Regions from separate parts of the Homo sapiens genome. Here all the other regions are linked to region 7. The links are contacts of gene promoters, found by promoter capture Hi-C in blood cells and fetal thymus (Javierre and others, 2016). All regions are on one chromosome and are shown on one strand. The core of a region is centred on a gene start or on the middle of the fragment in contact, and the rest is flanking DNA. Distances in the headings are between cores, read along the strand shown.

Region 1 (2,688 bases), core at 148-2,647, 300 kb after region 7:
ACAAAGCCACGGCTCACTGCACCCTTGACCTCCTGGGCTCAAGCGATCCTCCCACCTCAGCCTCCTGAGTAGCTAGGACTACAGGCGCACTCTGCCACACCTGGCTAATTAAAAACAGTTATTTTGTAGAGATAGAGTCTTGCTATGTTGCCCAGGCTGGTCTTGAACTCCTGGGCTCAAGTGATATTCCTGCCTCGGTCTCTCACAGTGCTGGGGTTACAGGCATGAGCCACCATGGCCAGCTACTCCTGCCCTTTAGGTTTTGGCTCATTTCTCTTCCCCAGGGGAAACTGGGGCAGGATCATGGCAGGGCCTGGCATGCAACCCTTGCTGGCACAGCACTGTGGTAAGGGGCATGGGCTCTGAAGTTCAAGTGGAGAGAATACCCCTTATGAACTGGGTGTCCTTGGCCAGCACTTAACCTCTTTGTGCCTCAATGGCCCTCTATGAAGGATAACAGTAGACCTGTCTTGTAAGGTTATTGTGAAGTAAAACTTGTAGAATGGAGCTTGGCACAGAGTAAGCTTCAATCAATGTCAGCTCTTCATTACCCAACCTTGGCGCTGCATGACGAACACCTGTGGATGGTTAAAAACTGCACTGCAGGTTACTTCCCTCAGAGCCTCTGGGGTGGGACCCAGGCTTCCGTATTTTTTTTTAAGCCCCTTAGGTAATTTCATTGTGTGCACAGGGCTGAAAACTGCCTGAGGCTGCAGTCTCTCAAGTGCTAGTTCACACAGATATTTATTTATTTATTTTTTGAGACAGAGTTGCGCTCTTGTCATCCAGGCTGAAGTGCAATGGCGCAATTTTGGCTCACTGCAGTCTCCGCCTCCCAGGTTCAAGAGATTCTTCTTCCACAGCCTGCCGAATAGCTGGGATTACAGGTACGCGCCACCATGCCGGGCTAACTTTGTATTTTTAGTAGAGACGGGGTTTCACCATGTTTCACCATGTTGTCCAGGTTGCTCTCAAAATCCCGACCTCAGGTGATCCACCTACTTTGGCCTCCCAAAGTGCTGGGATTACAGGCATGAGCCACCATGCCCGGCCACACACAGATAAATTTAAACGTTCCCTACAGGTCTTTGTTGGGTCCTTTTGGAAGCAACTCCTGCCCCCGTGCCCCACAAAGGAGCATTTTCTTGTATGTGTCAGAATCATTTCTCTTTTCCCCTACCCCACTGCAAACCCCACCCAAGTTCAGAAGAAAAATACCTTCAAGAACTCTGACCAGATAGAGGAAAAGTGCATTGACTCAATCTACCTCCTTCCTCACTCCCTTCTTGGAGGAGGCCCCTTCCCAAAAGACCTTCCTGGAAAAATCTTCCTTTGGTGTCTCCAAGGAACTATGCTCTCCAGGGCACGCAACAACAGAGTAAGAATTCATCTACCACTAAAGACTGAATATAGTATGCAGTATAAAACTATTTAAAAGGGCCAGACGCGGTGGCTCATGCCTGTAATCCCAGCACTTTGGGAGGCCGAGGCGGGTGGATCACGAGGTTAGGGGTTCAAGACAAGCCTGGCCAAGATGGCAAAACCCCATCTCTACTAAAAATACAAAAATTAGCCGGGCATGGTGGCGGACACCTGTAATCCCAGCTACTCAGGAGGCTGAGACAGAGAATTGCTTGAACCCGGGAGGCAGAGGTTACGAGATCACACCACTGTATTCCAGCTTGGGCGACAGAGCAAGACTTCATCTCAAAAAAAAAAAAAAAACTTATTTAAAAGAAGGCGCCAGGCCAGGGTCGGTGGCTCACGCCTGTAAATCCCAGCACTTTGGGAGGCCAAGGTGGGGCAGATCACCTGAGGTCAGGAGTTCGAGACGAGCCTGGCCAACACGGTGAAACCCTGTCTCTACTAAAAATATAAAAATTAGCCAGATGTGGTGGTGCGTGCCTGTAATCCCAGCTACTCAGGAGGCTGAGGCAGGAGGATCACTTGAACCTGGGAGGCGGAGGTCGCAGTGAGCCGAGATCACGCCACTGCACTCCAGCCTGGGTGACACAGCAAGACTCCGTCTCATAAATAAATAAATAAGGCACCATAACAAAATACAGTTTATCCTAAACATGGTTTAATAGTTGGGAAGTTGGTCATATTATGTCTTTTTCCTAAATACATGCAGAGGTAAGAGACCTAACCCTGGGAGTGTGTTTGGAGGAATGAATGCTTTAAAATCAATCCCAGAATCGGTAAGTGTAATGCACAACAGTAACTGAATGACAGACAAAAACCACATGATCATCTTAGTCAATGCACAAAAAGCTTTTGAAAAAGTTCAACACGCTTTCATGATTAAAAAAAAAATGCAGCAAACTAGAAATAGAAGAAAACTACCACAATATGATAGCCATATATGAAAACCCCATAGTTAAATCATACTCAATGATGCAAGACAAACTTTTTCCTCGAAGATCAGGAACAAGACAAGAATGCCCACTTTCACCACTTCCATACCACGTAGTCTTGGAATTTCTAGATAGAGCAATTAGGCAAAAAGGAAGAAAAGGAAAGAAAAGAAAAAAGAAAAGGAAAAGGAGGGAATAGAAAGAAAAGAAGAAAGAAAGAAAATGCATCCAAATTGGAAAGGAAGAAGGAAAATTATTATTCATAGATTATATGATCTTAGAAAACCCTAAAGATTCCACAAAAAACCCTTTGGAACTACTAAACAAATTT
Region 2 (2,736 bases), core at 3-2,502, 440 kb after region 7:
TTTCTCAGCAAGGTCTTTATGACCTGTATCTTGTGTGACCTCCTATCTCATCCTGTGACTTAGAATACCTAACCGTCTGGGAATGCAGACCCTGTAGATCTCAGCCTCATTTTACCCAGCTCCTATTCAGGATGGAGTTGCTCTAGCTCAAATGCCTCTGACATTTCCCCCATCACTTTTATAAGAGAACCCTTAATCCTAAGGGTTGCAGAGGGACGAAGATCCATCCTCTGTAACTTCTTCAGGCTGATTAGGGGCAATGATATTCCTGCCTACCTATCGAGGTCTCTTGTATTCAGGGTAGAGAGGAGCTCAGTCAGAAAGTGTCAGTATGGTTAGGGCTATTCACAGCTCGGACACAAAGTGATATCTGGAAGATTTTGTAAGTGTTTAAGAGAACATTGAGTAAGCTTATCCTGCATTCCTACACAAATAGTACAACTATTCCATATCAGTAAAGCAAAATAAGCAAAACTATCCCAAGTAAACTAAAGAAGGCTTTCCATGAACTGGGTAATTGTTGGAACCAAGCTGATACGGGGTCGGTAGCTGATTGCAATATGTTCCCAGAATTAGAATACTGATTCAGATTTTTACATCACCAATCCCTCTTGTTTCTTCTGAGCTGCAGCCAGAGATCACTGGTTGGTTCACAGGAACAAGCAGTCTAAATTGCAGAAAAAAACCAAAGTCAGCCAATCAGTGCTGCAGTCTATTTCCTTTGGGTTGGGGGTCTCCTCAGTATTGTCCCTTTGGGGTTCACCAGAAAGATGTTACCAGAAAGGGGTCCAGACCCGGACCCCAAGAGAGTGTTATTGGATCTCATACAAGAAGGAGTTTGGGGCGAGTCTGTGGAGGAAAGTGAAAGCAAGTCTATTAAGAAAGTAAAGGAATAAAAGAATTGCTACTCTGTAGGCACAACAGGCAGCAAACTTTTTATTAAAGTTCCAAACAGTAAATATTTTAGGCTTTGGGGACCATAGGGTCTCTTGCAGTTACAGTCATGCATCGTTTAACCATGGGCTATGTTCTCGGAAATGCATTGTTGTCATTTTGTCATTGTGCAAACATTGTAGAGTGTACTTATGCAGACCTAGATGGTATAGCCTCCTACACACCTAGGCTATAATGTGTAGTCTATTTCTCTTAGAGTACAAACCTGTACAGCATGTTACCTTACTAAATAAATACTGTAGGCAATTATAACACAATGGTAAGTATTTGTGTATCTAAACATAGAAAAGGTACTATATGGTAATTAGTAAATCTTATGGTATTATAATCTATGGGTATTATAACCTTAGGGAACTGTTGTTGTGTATGTGGTGTGTTGTTGACGAGAACCTCGTTGTTCAGAGCATGACTGTACTCAGTTCTGCTGAGTTGTAGCTTGAAAGCAGCCATAGACAATATGTAAACAAATGGACATAACTGTGTTTGAATAAAACTTTATTTATAAAAACAAGCAGCTGGCCTGACCACTGTTTGCTGGCCCATGTTCTAGGAATAAAACATTCCTATCTGATGAACCATGTTCTAAGTTTAGTGTGGTCTGCATGATTATAAAATATTGCCTTCCTTTTACTGTTTGGGAGGAGTTATTTTTTCCTTGTGACTGTTTATCTGGGTAATGTTTTTCTCCCCTGGGCTTTGACATTGTGCACTGGTTAGCTGCTGGGAATAAATTAGCCAAAGAACCACTTAACATAGCTAAAGGAGGGCAAAGATAAATGCAGAACATAATTCATTTTTCTTTTCTCCTCCCACCTCAAACTAGGATTCTGCATGTTTGTACTGAGTCTGGTCAAGAAGCATTATCGACTGCAGTTCTACATGGTAAAGGAAATGCATGCGTGTGTGTCAGAATTCTTGATTTAAATGAAGTTTTTCAGGAACTCAACAAGCCTTTCATGCTTTCTGTGACAAATCAAAACTCAGGAACATGGTCTGATATGTATGCATCTAGAGCATGAAGGAAGAATGCCCATTTAGGTTTAATGGCTCTACGTTGACTTAGACCCAGTCACTGTTACTTACACCTTAAGCAGCCTCTCCACTAGGACCCTGAGGTGGGCTCCAGAGAAGGCACAAGCTGAAGCTTCAGACACTGCCCACAGATGTCCTGTCTGGTACATCACTTGCTACCACTTATTCCCTGACTCACTAGAGAACAGCTCCTCTCTGAGTGCTCCAGGTGCTCAATAACTACTAAGAAAATGAAAAATACCCAGGCTTTCAGAGCATGGGAGAGCTCACTCACTAGTGGGCTGTGGGGGACAAAGTATTACTCTCAGAAGCCTGATCTTACCTGTTCACTTTCAATAAGTCAGATACAAAAGCAGATATTTTTCCTACCTGCTTCTCAGCAGTTTTCTATTTGGTATTGATTGTTCTTTGAAGTTACTTTCAAGGTAAACTGGTAAGTAGTGTTTATTTTTCTTTTTTTTGCAGTTTGGCTGGACCCATGTGACATTGCTGATTGTTGTAACACAGTCACATCTTGTTATCCACAACCTATTTGAAGGAATGATCTGGTGAGAATTGGGAGTTGGATTTTCCCTTTTATTTTGTGAGTGTTTCTCGTGTACAGATACCCCCCTCTAAGCCAGTGGCCCTCACCTTGAGCCACATCAGAATCCTCTGCAGGGTTCATTATAGCACAGATTGCTGGACCCCACCCCTGACTTTTTGATTCATTAGATCTGGGGTAGGCTTGAGAATTTGAATTTCTAGTAC
Region 3 (2,688 bases), core at 109-2,608, 480 kb before region 7:
TACCGGTCTTATTCCTATCTGGAGATAGTGAACTTCTTGGGTTTTTCAGTGACTGTAACATATTTGTCTTTTTATGCTCAGCAGCCAGCGCAGTGCTCGCTTCTTGAAGTGGTTCAGTGAATGTTGAGTTAGTGGATGAAAACATGCATCAACAAATGAGTAAGCAAATGAATGCCTGAAGGACTGTGCACCTCTGAGTGTCACTGAGGGTTACAGTATATGTCTGTGTCCCAAGGTGTCAGCCCTTCTGCAAGAGATGATTGGAGAGGGCTTTCATTCATCCCAAGGAGCATAGTCTGTCTAGGGCAGGGGTGGGGCCCTTTCTCCTAGGAGGAACGCTTTGAGAGGCACGAACACGGAGCTGGATCAGAGGAGTACGTGCCCCTGCTGTCAGCGTGGGGGTGACTGGCCCATGGAATAGAACTTATCTCCAATGTATGCCATGAGCCCTACCTAGGAATCCCTTCCTTAGGGGTGGTCCCTACCTCCATGTAGATGGACCTGTGTAGGAATAGCGTTGCCTGGTAGTGGGTGAATAAATCTGCTTAAGCATGGGGCTCAGTTAATAGGCTCATGTCTCATCAGGCTTGGGATTTAGCAGAGAGTTTGGAGCCTAGCACACTGGATTTTCACCTCAAGGAAGATGCTGCCGCATACTATGTAGGTGGATTTTTTTCCCCAAAGCAACTGTGGCGGAGGCAAAGATTGGTCTATAAGTGCATGAAGACGGCATAATTGGTGACCACATTTCACTCCTCTGTAGTAATATTATACATCCATACCCCTTCCATAGCCTCATGGTGGGAACAATAATTGTCTTTGCCCCTTGACATTGAGCTTGGCCATATGACTTGCTTTGGCCAAGGGGATGTTGGCAGATGTGACAAAAGCAGGAGCTTGAATTTGCTTGTGTGATTGGGTTCGTGTTCTTGTGCTTCTGCCATCACCACAAAAATACCATATTTCAGGTTGCCATTGCATCTTCATGTCAGACACCAAAATGAGACATCTGCAGTGAAGCTATGCCAAGCAATCTGCAGACATATGAACGAGAAATAAATGTTTCTAGCTGCATGTCACTGAGATATCAACGGAGTTTGTTATGTAGCAAAAGCTGATTGATACAAGGCAAAATGAGTTTTTTAAATTTCAGGCTTTTTGACACTGACAGTTGAGGAAATTATTTACTGCCTTTAAATTTGCAAGGCAGCAGTTACTAAAGCTTAATATACATATAGCCTGTGATCTAGAAATGTCTATGGGGGGGACATTCAGCTTATGTCCCCCCCATAGACATGTATAAAAATATTCATAGCAGCTTCGGCCATAATACTTAACCTGGAAATAACTCAGATGTCCTCCAGTACAGCACAGAAGGCCAAGGAGGGAATGGGAGTGAGAAAGTAGAGGCAGGAAGTTGTTGCGGATGCAAAAAGAGATGAAAGAACAAATGGGAGTGGACTCTTTCTGATGGAAGAGGTTTGAGTGTGTTTATAAGCTTTGAGAAAAGATTCAATAAGGAGGTAGAAGTTGAAGGTTCAGGAGGAGGTGCAGAGGGATGGAGTAAGATGTTCGATAGGTAGCAGGGCGTGGTATTCTAAGCCCAGTTGCAGCAGTTTGCTTCAGAGAGAAAACTAGAACAGAGGGTAGGAAGATGAAGATGTTTGTAGGTTGTTGGGTTCAGAAATCCAGAAGGGTCCTGCCTGATGTGGGTGTTGGGGAGTTATGGGAATTAAAAAGAATAATAAGATTTTGTAATAACCATTGTGGGAAATGAGAAAGGGGCCAGTAAGATTGTCCAGGGGCAAATATGATTGCTAAACAGTTTCAAAAGTCCAGCTGAGAGGTTGGAGACCAGGAAATTGTGATGCTTTCTAACAAGATTCAGCAACCTGGATATGGGAACCAAGAAATTAAGAGATTTCTTAATCTCTTAATTAAGAGATTTAAGAGATGTCTTAAATTAAGAGATTAAGAAATTAAGAGATTTCCACCCCCACTTGGCAGTCATTAATTCAGGGCCATCATTTAAGAAGGGCCCAAGGGTTACATTTAAGGGCTAAGACATAGGGAAATTTTGTGGGCTGTTTGACATATCTGCCACCGGTGTGGTGTGTTTAAGGAAGAGGTTGAACGAAGGTGGCAGCATTCATTGCAGAAAGAGTAGCACCCATATCTACCAGGAGTCAATGAGGTTGACCATCTATATTTATAATAGTTAATTTGCCTTAGATGTTTAAGGGTAAGGCAGGCTATTGAGTACTTTTTCTTTCCTTAGAGAACCCTCATTCATCTAAATTGAGATACTTTTTTTTTTTTCAAATGGGATGATTTTTCCAGTGTCCCTTCTGTTCATGATATCTAAATATATCCTCATTAGTACAGGTGACCAGTTTGGAAGTGAGCCATCTATAGCTCTTTGATCTGCAGGGCTGTAACAGTTGGATTCTCCCATTGTCCCTCTCCTGGCGGAACAGAACCAACAGGATATATATGTGTGTGTGTATATATATATATACCTGTTGGGTCTGGGTCTGTTTCTCTGTATATATATATATATATATATATATATATATATATATATATATATATATATTTATAAAATATTTTTTTCTTTATTTTTCTGTATTTTAAGGAATTGACTCACTCAATTGTGGGGGCTGCCAAGTCTGAAATCTGTAGGGCAGG
Region 4 (2,688 bases), core at 182-2,681, 390 kb after region 7:
TACAGTATGCTTAAGTTGGGGACGCAGTGTTATATGTGTTTTACATCACTTACAGGGCAGTGAATAGAAAGAACAGGAAACACCAAAGGCAATGCTGGAGCAACACAAGTATTAATAAATGCAGGCAGGCAGTATAGTATGGTGGTTAGAGTGTGGGCTGGTAACAAACCTGTTTGTGTTCTAATTCTTACTAGGCACTTTCTAGCTGGGAGACCTTGGCTAAGGTCCTTTTAAAAGTTTTAAATCCATCCAACAAGTACTTACAATGGATGTGTCAAAGACATAGAGGATGCACAGTAAACAAAGTAGACAGCACTTCTGTCCCAAAAAAGGTCTTTCCATAGTCCAGAAGACAAATTTGAAAAACTGAGGAAGGGCCAGGCTCGGTGGCTCACGCCTGTAATCCCAGCACTTTGGAAGGCGGAGGCGGACGGATCACCTGAGGTCAGGAGTTCGAGACCAGCCTGACCAATATGGTGAAACCCCGTCTCTACTAAAAATACAAAAGTTAGCCGGGCGTGGTGGCGCGCACCTTGGAATTGTTTGCGCCCGGGAGGCAGAGGTTGCAGTGAGTCGAGATCATGCCACTGCACTCCAGCCTGGGCGACAGAGCGAGACTCCGTCACAAAACAAACAAACAAACGAACAAACAAACAAACCACTGAGGAAGATCTTAACTGTAAAATTCAAATCATACCCACTTCCAAGCCATGTGTGGATTAAACGAGATAAGCCAACTAAAGCGATTACTCAGCTCAGTGCCTAGTATACAATTAGTGCTTAACAAGTACTAGCGACCGCTTGGCAAAGCAAAGCAGACTGAAGCGTGGGTTTCATTTCTCATCATGTGATAAGTGATAAAATGCTCTTAACCAGGTCGGCTCACCTGGCCTTTCCATTCGACCTAAATAACGTCTACTTACTTGCGTAAGGGAAGAGCTCTGGCCCAGGTCAGCAAGCATTTGTCAGGCTAGAGCCTCCGGGTGGCGCTTCTCGCCCTCAGTAACCGGTTACCTCCAGAACCAGGGCGCCAGCTCCGGCCATCCGCGGTTAAGCGGGAGCTCCCATTGGCTAATCGCACACTGAAACGCACGCCTTTTCCCGCCCCTGACGCTGCCGTCCAATGCGCGCCTCTCGACTCTGCTCCGCCCCGCCCCGCCCCCGTCGCCCTGCCTCCCTGGCGTATTTGCGCCATTGGTGGATATTCCGGACCGTGATGGTGGCGCTGCGCGTGCGCACTCGCTCCGAGCCCTGCTCCCGGGAGAGGGAGCTCTCGGGTCGGGGCTAGGGAAGGCTGACCCCGCTCGGCCCGGGTGAAAGGGCGGTGACGGCACTGGGTGGGGCCGAGCTCCAGGGCTGGCTGCTGGGCTGCTAAGGGAACTGTGAGCCGCTCAGAGCCGCGCGCCTCCCGGGCGGGGCGGGGCCGGCCGTGGGAGTCCGCGCGTGCCCGCGCCGAGCTGCCTGCTCCGGCGGCTTCGCTGCTAGCTCGCGGCGACGTCGGGCCGATTTTCCCAGGATGACAGAGCTGAGGCAGAGGGTGGCCCATGAGCCGGTTGCGCCACCCGAGGACAAGGTAGCGGCAGCGTCGGGGTGGGCGCGGCCGGGACAGCGGCGCATCCGGGAGGCCTGCGGGGGACGCGCGCAGAGGGGTCGTCTTGTTCTCTGACCCTTTGTCGCAGCCGACGGCGGCCCCGGGCCCGGGTAGCGCGAAGGGCCCTCGGGTGCCCGGCCTTCGCGGCGCGCGCGTCAGGGGTCGGCGGGTCGGGGTCCCGGCTCAGGGTCTGACTGAAGTGGCTCCCCCGGGGCGCAGGAAGGAGCTTCTCGGGAGTGGCGCACGGCCTCCTGCCTCGCTGGGCTGGCTGCGGGGACTCCCCTCTCCCCCAACTCCGTGAGGCCTTCCTGGAGGTGAAGATATGCAGAGCCTTCTTAGGGAGGCGGCTCCTCTGAGCGCAACTTAGGCTCTCCGTTCCCTTTTACAATGTTATTATTTTGGGGGGTGGGGGAATCAGGACAAGGCCATAGCATTTGCCTCCTGGGAGATGTAAATCCCTTCTTGGGCATGAAATCATCGGCTTTGAGCAAAGGGGTGTTACCCAGTGAGCCAGTCCGTCATCAGCAGGTGTTGGAGGGCGTCCTCCCGGTTGATGGGTTGTTTCCTGCACCGTGTGGGCTCTGGTGGGTAGGGGAGGAGAGTAGGAAGGAGGCCATCTTGGCGGGGACAGTGGCGGGGGTGACGGGTGGGGGAGTGGACTCCTTTGGGTGAAGTGAAAGATCTGTGTAGGGGAGTTAAGGAAGGTAGGGATTGGTTTTATTACTGTGGAGGTTGAATGGCAGTATAGGACTTTGTAGCAGTAGTTGTGCTTTCCGAGATAGCAGTGATCAGGAGCCCTGTGTTTGGGAAACTGATCAGACAGTGATGTGTAGAAGGGACTGAGGGAGCCTGGACCAGACTGAGGGAGCCTGGTTCACTCGGGATTGCCCATGAGTGACCTGTAGATGTTTTCTTTGGCCCACATATTGCCTTAAAAATCAGAAAGTTTCTCCTAACAATCTAAATTTCTTGCCTGTCTTAGATAATTGGAGGGTCCACCATCACTTTGTCACCTGCTCAATGGTTGGCTGGAGCTGAGGATCATCGGTTCCCACCAATCCCTGTTGCCTTACACCAGGCTCACGGCTTCCCCTAAT
Region 5 (2,688 bases), core at 126-2,625, 460 kb before region 7:
CAGATGCTCAGGAAGGACTTGTTAACCTAGAGAATTAAATTTAGGATGCAACATGAGTTTTCACTCATATATATTCCCATTTCCATCCAGCAATTTCATTTTTGAGCCAGATACCTCCTGATGAGAATAATGTGTCAAGGAGGCCTGCATAAATAAAAGTCATGAATGATAGCCAAACCTCTTCTTAAAAATTAGATTCCATCTTTCCCCCCAGCAAAATGTTCAGTGGAACTGCTCACATGGAGGAAAATCAACTGGCTTGAGTTTCTCCTCTGCCACTCTGGAGCAACCCTCTTGGGACATTTATGTTTTAAAAACATATTCTTATCTCAAAATCTTCTCTATCCCCTGTTGCCAACCCCTCATACCACTGGTCCTCAGCTCCTGGGTGCTTGCCCCTTGCAGTCAAGGCCAGGGCTCCTGAAGCCTTTGTGGGTTTGGCAGGCTGTTCAGGTATTTCATTCCCACCCCACTGCCCACCGCCCCCATGCCAACCCATGTGGGGAGCTTTCAAAATTGCTTCTTAGCTGACCTTCCCAACGAAAGATAGCCCACTGGCCTGAGACCTGCTGTGAGTGAGGGGTCAAGAGAGAGACAGGCCCTCCTCTGCAAGAATATCTGTCTTCTTCTCTCTTAAGCTTGACATCTTGAAGCCATATTCACTCCTGGGAAACAACTGAGGGCCTTGATTTTTCTATTGTCATCTTTTTAAAAAAATTGGTTCATGGGAGGTGAAAGCCTTAGATAGAAAAACTCAAAACAGTGCCTAGAACAACCCACTGCACGTTCTCAAAAACACTAGTGATCTGCCTGCAGCTTAATTTTTTTGATAATACACAACAGAGCTGTCTGCATTTTTTCCCACTCAATTGAGTGACTTTTTGATGGATTTGACTGGTTGTTTTGGCATCGCGTAGGCACAAACTCGAGCTGGGGCTCCACAGAGGCGGCGAAATCAGACATGAATAATAATCATAATAAACCTTCAAAACATTTGAAAGTTTCCAAAGTGCTTTCCTGCACATTTACCTCGTTCCATCCTAAAGCGCTCTGCGACATAGACAGAATTGGTATTACGGCGCCCATTGTGCCTGTGGGGGACAGAGAGGACCAGAGATGGGTGCTGGCTTTTCCTGGCCCTGATCAGAACTAGACTCCTCATCCAGGGCTCTTTCCACACTGGGAGAGAGTGAGAGAGAGGATATCTAGTGGGGCCTGCAGGGCAGGAGGCTGGGGCAGAGACTCTTCAGAATGTTAGCTTGGGTAGGGTCAGCAGGGTTCAGGGAATCAGGTTCTGAAGAGGAAAGCAAGCAGCAGGCACTGGACACCAGCCTGCCACCAAGACCCTGATGAGATGTGTGAGCTGGCATTAGGGCTTGCAGAGCACCACATGTGAAAAGGTCTGCAGGGCACCTTACCTCGTCATCTCCTAGGGCTAGTGTCAGGCATAGCTGTGAGGTGGGCACATTTCATCTCCAGTCCCCCTTCTGGGCTCCCTGCTCTAGTGGGCTGGCCTTTCTACCAGCTCCATTGGCCCCAGGCACATCTCCTGCTCATCCTTGGCCCCAGGCTCCCTTGCTCTGGCCCACTGTTTCCATCTGCCTTATCCCCAGGGGAGCTCCCTGTCCCATCTCCCTCTTCCTGGGATCCAGCTCTCTTTGCTTGTGGATGTAACAAGCTGCTTGCCAGAGAACATCTCCCCAGGCCCCTGGGTAAAATCCATCTGTTTTTACAGGAGCCTTATCAGGATGGTACTGCCTCTCAGCTTGGCCCAAGCTGTCATCCTGAGATGTGCACTTCCCATTGACCTTTCCTTGGAGGACTTGCTCAAATCCTGCTTCCTCCAGGAAGTCTTTGTTGATTGCTCTGGTCCACGCTGATCTTGGGCTTTTATGACCTACTGAGAAGCTGGATTGATGGGGTTGTGGTCCCCTGCTTCTTCTTTATATTAATCCTCCTCCTTCCCCCTCCTCTTCTTCCTCCTTTAAGAAGTAGTAGTGGTTTCTTTGTTTGCACTTATGGCCTGTGAAAAAGAAAACACTATGCTTGACTTCCTCCCTTCCTCCCTCCTTCATTTTAACAAATGTGAGGTCCTTCATTATATTCCAATAAGAAGCTTAAATATTTTCACTTAATGAGAGATCATACTTATTTAAGCAACCAAATGACCATCTTTCCCAGTATAATTGCAAAAGATCATTAGTTAATTCTTCTTGTAGCTGCTGCTTTGTATGTCAGTCCACTGACCAGGAGTTCTGTTCCAGGAGAAGGTCTCTCCAGAGTCTCTCTGCCCATTCCCTTCAACTCCTACACACCCTTCCATCCTTAGCTGACTGCCATCTTCACCTTTTCACTCTGCCTTTTCTAGCCTAGTTTCTAGGCAAACAAATATTCTTACAGCGTTGGGTTTTTCCTGGAAAGTTCCCTTGACTTTCTTGCCTTGAATAAAATGTCACTTTTCATCAAACATAGAGCTGTGTTGGGTTCCAAGTATCAGTTTTATACCATCACTTTATAACACCCTTGAAAAAAATTCTTTCCTTGTGATACATGCCACCTGCTGTCTCTCCTCATCATTAGAAAGCACATATTTCTGGTCACTTTCCCTGTTGAGGGGTCTCAAAATTCTTGTCCCCATTGTCTCTTCACCAATATTATCCTCAAAATGTCTAACATCAAATCAACCCA
Region 6 (2,688 bases), core at 188-2,687, 470 kb after region 7:
AGTGGCACTACCTTGGCTCACTGCAACCTCCTCCTCCTGGATTCAAGCGGTGCCTCAACCTCACGAGTAGTTGGGATTATAGGCACTGCCACCACACCCAGCTAATTTTCGTATTTTTAGTAGAGACAGGGTTTTGCCGTGTCGGCTAGGCCAGTCTTGAACCCCCGACCTCAAGTGATCTGCCCATCTCGGCTTCCCAACATATTAGGATTACAGGCATGAGCCAGCGTGCCCGGTCGCTTGGCTTTTTCATGTCACCCCCGAGGTGGCCCCATTCTGGGTGGGGGAGTTACTCTTGGGTTTGGGTCTCCCTGCCCCTGAACATAGCTGTTGCACAAGTAGCTGCTCACACTGAACTCTACAGAGCCATCAGTCAACCTTGAGGGATTGTTATCTGACCAAAGACTTTCTATCTGTCCATTATTTATTGCTGCAAACATACCGGAAAGCAAGGAAGCCATAAAAAGCAAACAGTAGGGTCATGTCAAAATGAGGCAGAGCCAGCAAGAAGAGGCTCCTAAACATGGGACATTTTGAACATCAGTAAGGGTAATAACTGCAGTTGATGGAAACACATTGATTATATTTAAGTACATGAATTCATAATAATACCTAAATTCATGTTATCAGTATTGGAGGATGTGGGCAAACCAACTCTATTTATAAAACTAGTTAATGAAAGGAAAGAAGCATGTTTCCTGCCTTTTCTAAATAAACTGTACCATTGGTGTTAAATATCTGGTTTCTAAAAAATGTTATTTTAATATATAGAGATAGGATCTTGCTATGTTGGCCAGGCTAGTCTCAGATTCCTGGCCTCAAGCAGTCCTCCTGCCTTGGCCTCCCAAAATGCTGGGATTACAGGCATGAGTCAGTGTGCCCAACCAGTCATTTCAATAAATGTGCTGGATCAATTGTATATTCATGTGAAAAATTACCTCACATCATAACAACAACAACAACAAAAATCCAGATGGATTTTTAAATCCATCTAAATGTGAAAGGTAAAGCAATAAAGCTTTTGAAGAAAACATAGGAGACCACCTTCATGACCTCAGAGTAGGCAAAGATTTCTTAAACACGACACAAAAAGGCTCACTATAAAAGAAAAAAATTGATAAATTAGACTAAAGGGCCACTGTATTAGATACCTTGAGTGATTGCAAAACCTGGTTCTTGTCCTTATGAAGTTCATAATAAAGCCGATTGTTTTCTTTTTCTTTCTTTTTTTGTTAAGAGCAGAGTTTTAAAAGCTGGCTGTCCTCCCTGTTCTGCTCTCCCTAGGTGGTAGACTACCTACCCCTCAGGCATCCTGCTGTTAATTCGCTGAGTTCCCAGAGAGCAGGGCTCCCCAACAAATAGCTGATCTTTCTCCCTTGCCTGGCCTAGATCGGCCTCTGTTTAGAGAGGTGGTTTGGTGGTTGAAGAATGAGAACAGGGTGGGAGGGGGACAAACAGGCCTCTTCTGTGTCATTGACAGCTGATTTTTGTTTGTCAGCGTGCTAAGGTTGTGAAGTTGCCAATCCGTGATGATTAAGATTCTGTTGGGGTCCTTTGGAGAGGAGAGAGGTGGTGGCTTCTGAGAACATAACCAGAAGGCTTTTAGGGAAATGGAAAAGTCATAGTACGGAGCTTCAGCCTAGTCATTCACTGAGCTCAGAAGTGCTCCTCCTCACCCCTCCTCTCCCTTCCTTTTCCTTTCTTTACTAGCTGGGATTGTTCTTTCATTTATTCATAAAAATAAGGTACAAAAACAAATAATGCCTTGCCGTTGTTATTAAGAGAGACATTTAAAATGGATCATTGAAATACTATGTGGGAAGGCTTATTCATAGTTAATTATTAATGACACTTATCAAAGCTTGTCCTGGACCAAGTATTGTGACTGTCTCTTTATTTGCACCATTTCATTTCATCGTCATAGCATCCTTATGAGCTAAATATTATTCTACGTATTTAATAGGTTATGCTATTGAGGCTTATAAAGATTTAGCAACTTGGTCAACTATATTGTTAAGGGTCTCAAGACAATCCTCTTTACAGGTCCAAGCCCATCAATCAAATGTCATTTGGCAATAACTCTTTCTTATTTTGTTATCAATGTGTCACCCAAATTATTTGGAGCCTGAGGCCTTAATTAAAAATCTGGCTGGTGTGATTATAATGTGGCTGAGTGCTGATGCCAAATTTAAAGTCAGAGTGTGATTTTTTTAAGCTATGTATTTCAGAAGGATTGATGGTGGCTACTTGCCTTGTGCTCCAGAGCAGCACCCCCTTGATGGCAAGCCACTCCAAGAATGTTTAGGGCCGTAGCTGGCTGGTCCCCAATAGAGAAAACCCAATGGCTGTGTTTCTGGAGCGACCCAAGGCACAGGATACAAACCTGTCCATGCCACAATTATTGCATCTACTAGGACGCACTGATTAAAATTCTGTTTTCCCCTGAGAAGACATTTATTTCTCAATAAATTCAGGAAACCATTTGACAACATCCAGTACTCTTTAATGATAAGAACACTCAACACGCTGGAAAGAGAAGGGAACTTCCTCAACCTCATAAAGGATATTTATATAAAAGCCACAGCAAATGTCATACTTAATGGTGACTGACTGCTTTTGCTCTAAGACTAGGAACAAGAGAAGGATGTCTACTTTCACTGCTTCTATTCAACATTGTACTGAAGGTTC
Region 7 (2,688 bases), core at 156-2,655:
TAGAGGACTCCTGGATTTGCTATGCCTATCCTGATGGCTTCCTACATGAGACCATCCATTCACACTTGGCCCTTACCCAGGCCTGAAATTCTCCCCAGTTGCACTCCACCCACTTATGTCTATCACTTAGCTCAAAGCCAGTAAAGCTCATCTCTGAACTAGCAAAGATTCCCTTTATCCCATCAAAATGTCCTTAACATCTATCTTGAGGTCATGCAGCATGATCTTACTTTGCTGGCATTCTTTCCTTCTTCTGTGGATTCCCAAGCAGAGTACAGATGTACAGATTCCTTGGGGGATAAGAGCTGGAATTTCAGCTTCTTTTTTTTTTTTTTTTTTTTGAGACGGAGTCTCGTCTGTTGCCAGGCTGGAGTGCGGTGGTGCAATCTCTGCTCACTGCAACCTCCGACTCCCTGGTTCAAGCTATTCTCCTGCCTCAGCCTCCCAGGCAGCTGAATTACAGGCACACACCACCACGCCCAGCTAATTTTTGTATTTTTAGTAGAGACAGGGTTTCACCATGTTGGCCAGGACGGTCTCGATCTCCTGACCTCATGATTTACCTGCCTTGGCCTCCCAAAGTGCTGGGATTACAGGCATGAGCCACCGCACCCGGCCTCACCTTCTTTTATATCCCACACAGCACCCAGCACAGAGCACAAAGCTAAGCGCATCGATCCAGCGACTGACTGACTGAATAAATGAATACATGCTATCTTGCTTGTAGAAGCCCAGATTCCTCCTTCTTACGACTCCCACACCCACTTAGGAGATTCTATTATGTCTTAAAAGAAGTTACATCTCCATTAGTGTCAAAGCAACATTATATAAGTGGCTCAACATGATCAGGCATGAATTTCTTTGTTTTCCCACTCACCTGAAAGCCCAAAAACAATCCAGGTGGTGGTAAACACTTCTGATCCTTCAAAGAAAACGGAAGAAAGCGATCCCTACCGTCTATTTTGAATCTACCGTTTTTTGTTTTTGAGTGTCTTTTAAATCTATTCAAAATCCTTTAAGGGCATTTCACCATGCATGGGAGAAGGTCATGGATCCTCAACAAATTGCAAGAGGCCTTTCACAGGCTAGACTCTGCCTTGTTCTCCAAGCTCACCTTCCATAATCCTGATGTGCTCCATATTGCCAGACTCTTTCAAGTCCTTCCCCGCCCTGCGGAGAATCCCTACTCACACCTCAGGACCAGCTCAGACATGGTCTCCAGGAGACCTTTTCTAAGATCCTATGTGAGGTAACTAGCCCCCTTGGCACCTTGTGACATAATTATTCACTTCCATGTACATGTCCCGTAGTGAACTATGAGCACCTCCAGACCTTACCCTGCGTTTGGTCGCCTTGCTCTCCTCTCTGCAGCTGGCACCCAATCTTTCCAGGCTGTCTCTAGGGACTCGAGCCCTTGGGATGGGGTCCTCAATGCTTTTCCACCTGCCTGGCTTCTAAATTCCACTAAGATCCTGTCCCATTCTCTTGGAAACACTAGAACTTACTCTGACATGCCCTATGGAAGTTATTTCTCCACTGCTGTTCAAACCCACTCCCAGACCTGGCCTTCCCTGAGGAGAGCGTCTCAGCCAAATCCAACTGCCTCTAGCTCAAGTTTCCTTGCGGGGGGCCCGCTGGCCTCATCCTGTTAGGTCGTCTTAGAGCCACAGGAGAATCAATGTTCCAGTGTCAGCAGGAAGAATCAATGTTCCAGTGTCAGCCAGCAGGGGGCAGTGTGAAAATACACACACCAGGCCCTTTTTTCAAAGGGTCTCGGCTTCCCTGAGGGTGTCTATCTGTGCCTCTATGAAGCATGGCTTGGGTCATTCCTCCAGTCCCATGGCCAGGTGGATCCTTCGTTTACCTTTCATTTCTATTAAATGAGAACATTCTCAATTCACTAACTGGATTGTTGGAAAGGCAGCAAGCTCTGCTAGATAGTTCTAAATATTTGCATCAAATATGGACCAGAAATTGTGAATCTGTCTTTCAACGCCCTCGGATCTGAGTCAGCAAGGCTGCCACGTGCAAAAGTAGGAACGTTAAATACTTGAAGCTGGGAGAGAATAAGTGGGTTTCTAATCCTCTCTGGTGCATTCAGTTCTAGAAAGTGGTTCTTTGTATTCTACTGGAACATTTCTATGTATGGTTTTTTTGTTGTTTGTTTGTTTGTTTTTTGAGACAGAGTCTCCCTCTGTTGCTCAGGCTGGAGCACAGTGGCACAATTTCAGCTCACCACAACCTCTGTCTCCCGGGTTCAAGGAATTCTCCTGCCTGAGCCTCCCGAGTAGCTGAGATTACAGGCACGTGCCACCACGCCCAGCTAATTTTTGTATTTTTGGTAGAGGCAGGGTTTCACTATGTTGGCCAGGCTGGTGTATGTATGTTTTAAACATGCTTTAAAACAAAATTTCTTTTTAGAGATGGGATCTTGCTATGTTGCCCAGGCTGGAGTGCAGTGGCTATTCACAGGTGTGATCATGGCGCACTGAAGCCTAGAACTACTAGGCTCAAGCAATCCTCCCACCCTAGCCTCCCACGTAATTGAGACTACAGGTATACACCACCATGCCCGGCCTTAAACATGCTTTTAAATGTGTCATAAATCACATTTCTCTGATGAATAAAAAGAATTATCTAATGTTGAGAAAGAGTCAGTGTTTAATCATTTACCTCACAGTGCAGATT

Evidence for each region. The method cuts DNA at HindIII sites, captures the fragments that hold promoters and counts their contacts. A CHiCAGO score of 5 or more calls a contact.
Region 1: a fragment that was not itself captured here is called in contact with the fragment with the promoter of PRNT in region 7 in 2 of 17 cell types (endothelial precursors and activated CD4 T cells); the score reaches 6.2 in endothelial precursors.
Region 2: a fragment that was not itself captured here is called in contact with the fragment with the promoter of PRNT in region 7 in 2 of 17 cell types (naive B cells and activated CD4 T cells); the score reaches 6.7 in naive B cells.
Region 3: a contact is called between a fragment that was not itself captured here and the fragment with the promoter of PRNT in region 7, in 4 of 17 cell types (M1 macrophages, M2 macrophages, megakaryocytes and 1 more). The highest score is 10.1, in M1 macrophages.
Region 4: a contact is called between the fragment with the promoter of CDS2 here and the fragment with the promoter of PRNT in region 7, in 1 of 17 cell types (naive CD4 T cells). The highest score is 5.0, in naive CD4 T cells.
Region 5: a fragment that was not itself captured here is called in contact with the fragment with the promoter of PRNT in region 7 in 2 of 17 cell types (endothelial precursors and M1 macrophages); the score reaches 5.9 in endothelial precursors.
Region 6: a contact is called between a fragment that was not itself captured here and the fragment with the promoter of PRNT in region 7, in 3 of 17 cell types (naive CD4 T cells, activated CD4 T cells and total CD8 T cells). The highest score is 6.2, in naive CD4 T cells.

The regions. Positions count from the first base shown.
Region 1 is chr20:5,043,695-5,046,382 of GRCh38, forward strand. No RefSeq gene overlaps it. Among named protein-coding and RNA genes, the nearest start is that of SLC23A2, 44 kb to the left of the region's middle. RefSeq lists a silencer at 1,545-1,764. The HindIII fragment of the contact is 1,750 bases long and covers 523-2,272 here.
Region 2 is chr20:5,180,610-5,183,345 of GRCh38, forward strand. CDS2 (CDP-diacylglycerol synthase 2) reads left to right here. Exons shown (of 13, transcript NM_003818.4): 6 at 1,778-1,836; 7 at 2,452-2,534. Among named protein-coding and RNA genes, the nearest start is that of CDS2, 55 kb to the left of the region's middle. The HindIII fragment of the contact is 1,688 bases long and covers 409-2,096 here.
Region 3 is chr20:4,257,522-4,260,209 of GRCh38, forward strand. No RefSeq gene overlaps it. Among named protein-coding and RNA genes, the nearest start is that of ADRA1D, 9.6 kb to the left of the region's middle. The HindIII fragment of the contact is 276 bases long and covers 1,221-1,496 here.
Region 4 is chr20:5,125,577-5,128,264 of GRCh38, forward strand. It overlaps CDS2 (CDP-diacylglycerol synthase 2), which reads left to right and starts at 1,432. Exons shown (of 13, transcript NM_003818.4): 1 at 1,432-1,573. The coding sequence starts at 1,517. It also overlaps a transcript of PCNA not described here. RefSeq lists a silencer at 921-1,840 and enhancers at 1,103-1,604, 2,181-2,270. The HindIII fragment of the contact is 13,373 bases long and covers 1-2,688 here.
Region 5 is chr20:4,276,789-4,279,476 of GRCh38, forward strand. No RefSeq gene overlaps it. Among named protein-coding and RNA genes, the nearest start is that of ADRA1D, 29 kb to the left of the region's middle. The HindIII fragment of the contact is 1,478 bases long and covers 637-2,114 here.
Region 6 is chr20:5,206,499-5,209,186 of GRCh38, forward strand. No RefSeq gene overlaps it. Among named protein-coding and RNA genes, the nearest start is that of CDS2, 81 kb to the left of the region's middle. The HindIII fragment of the contact is 843 bases long and covers 1,017-1,859 here.
Region 7 is chr20:4,739,263-4,741,950 of GRCh38, forward strand. It overlaps PRNT (prion locus lncRNA, testis expressed), which reads right to left and starts at 1,406. Exons shown (of 2, transcript NR_024269.1): 1 at 1,338-1,406. The HindIII fragment of the contact is 12,166 bases long and covers 1-2,688 here.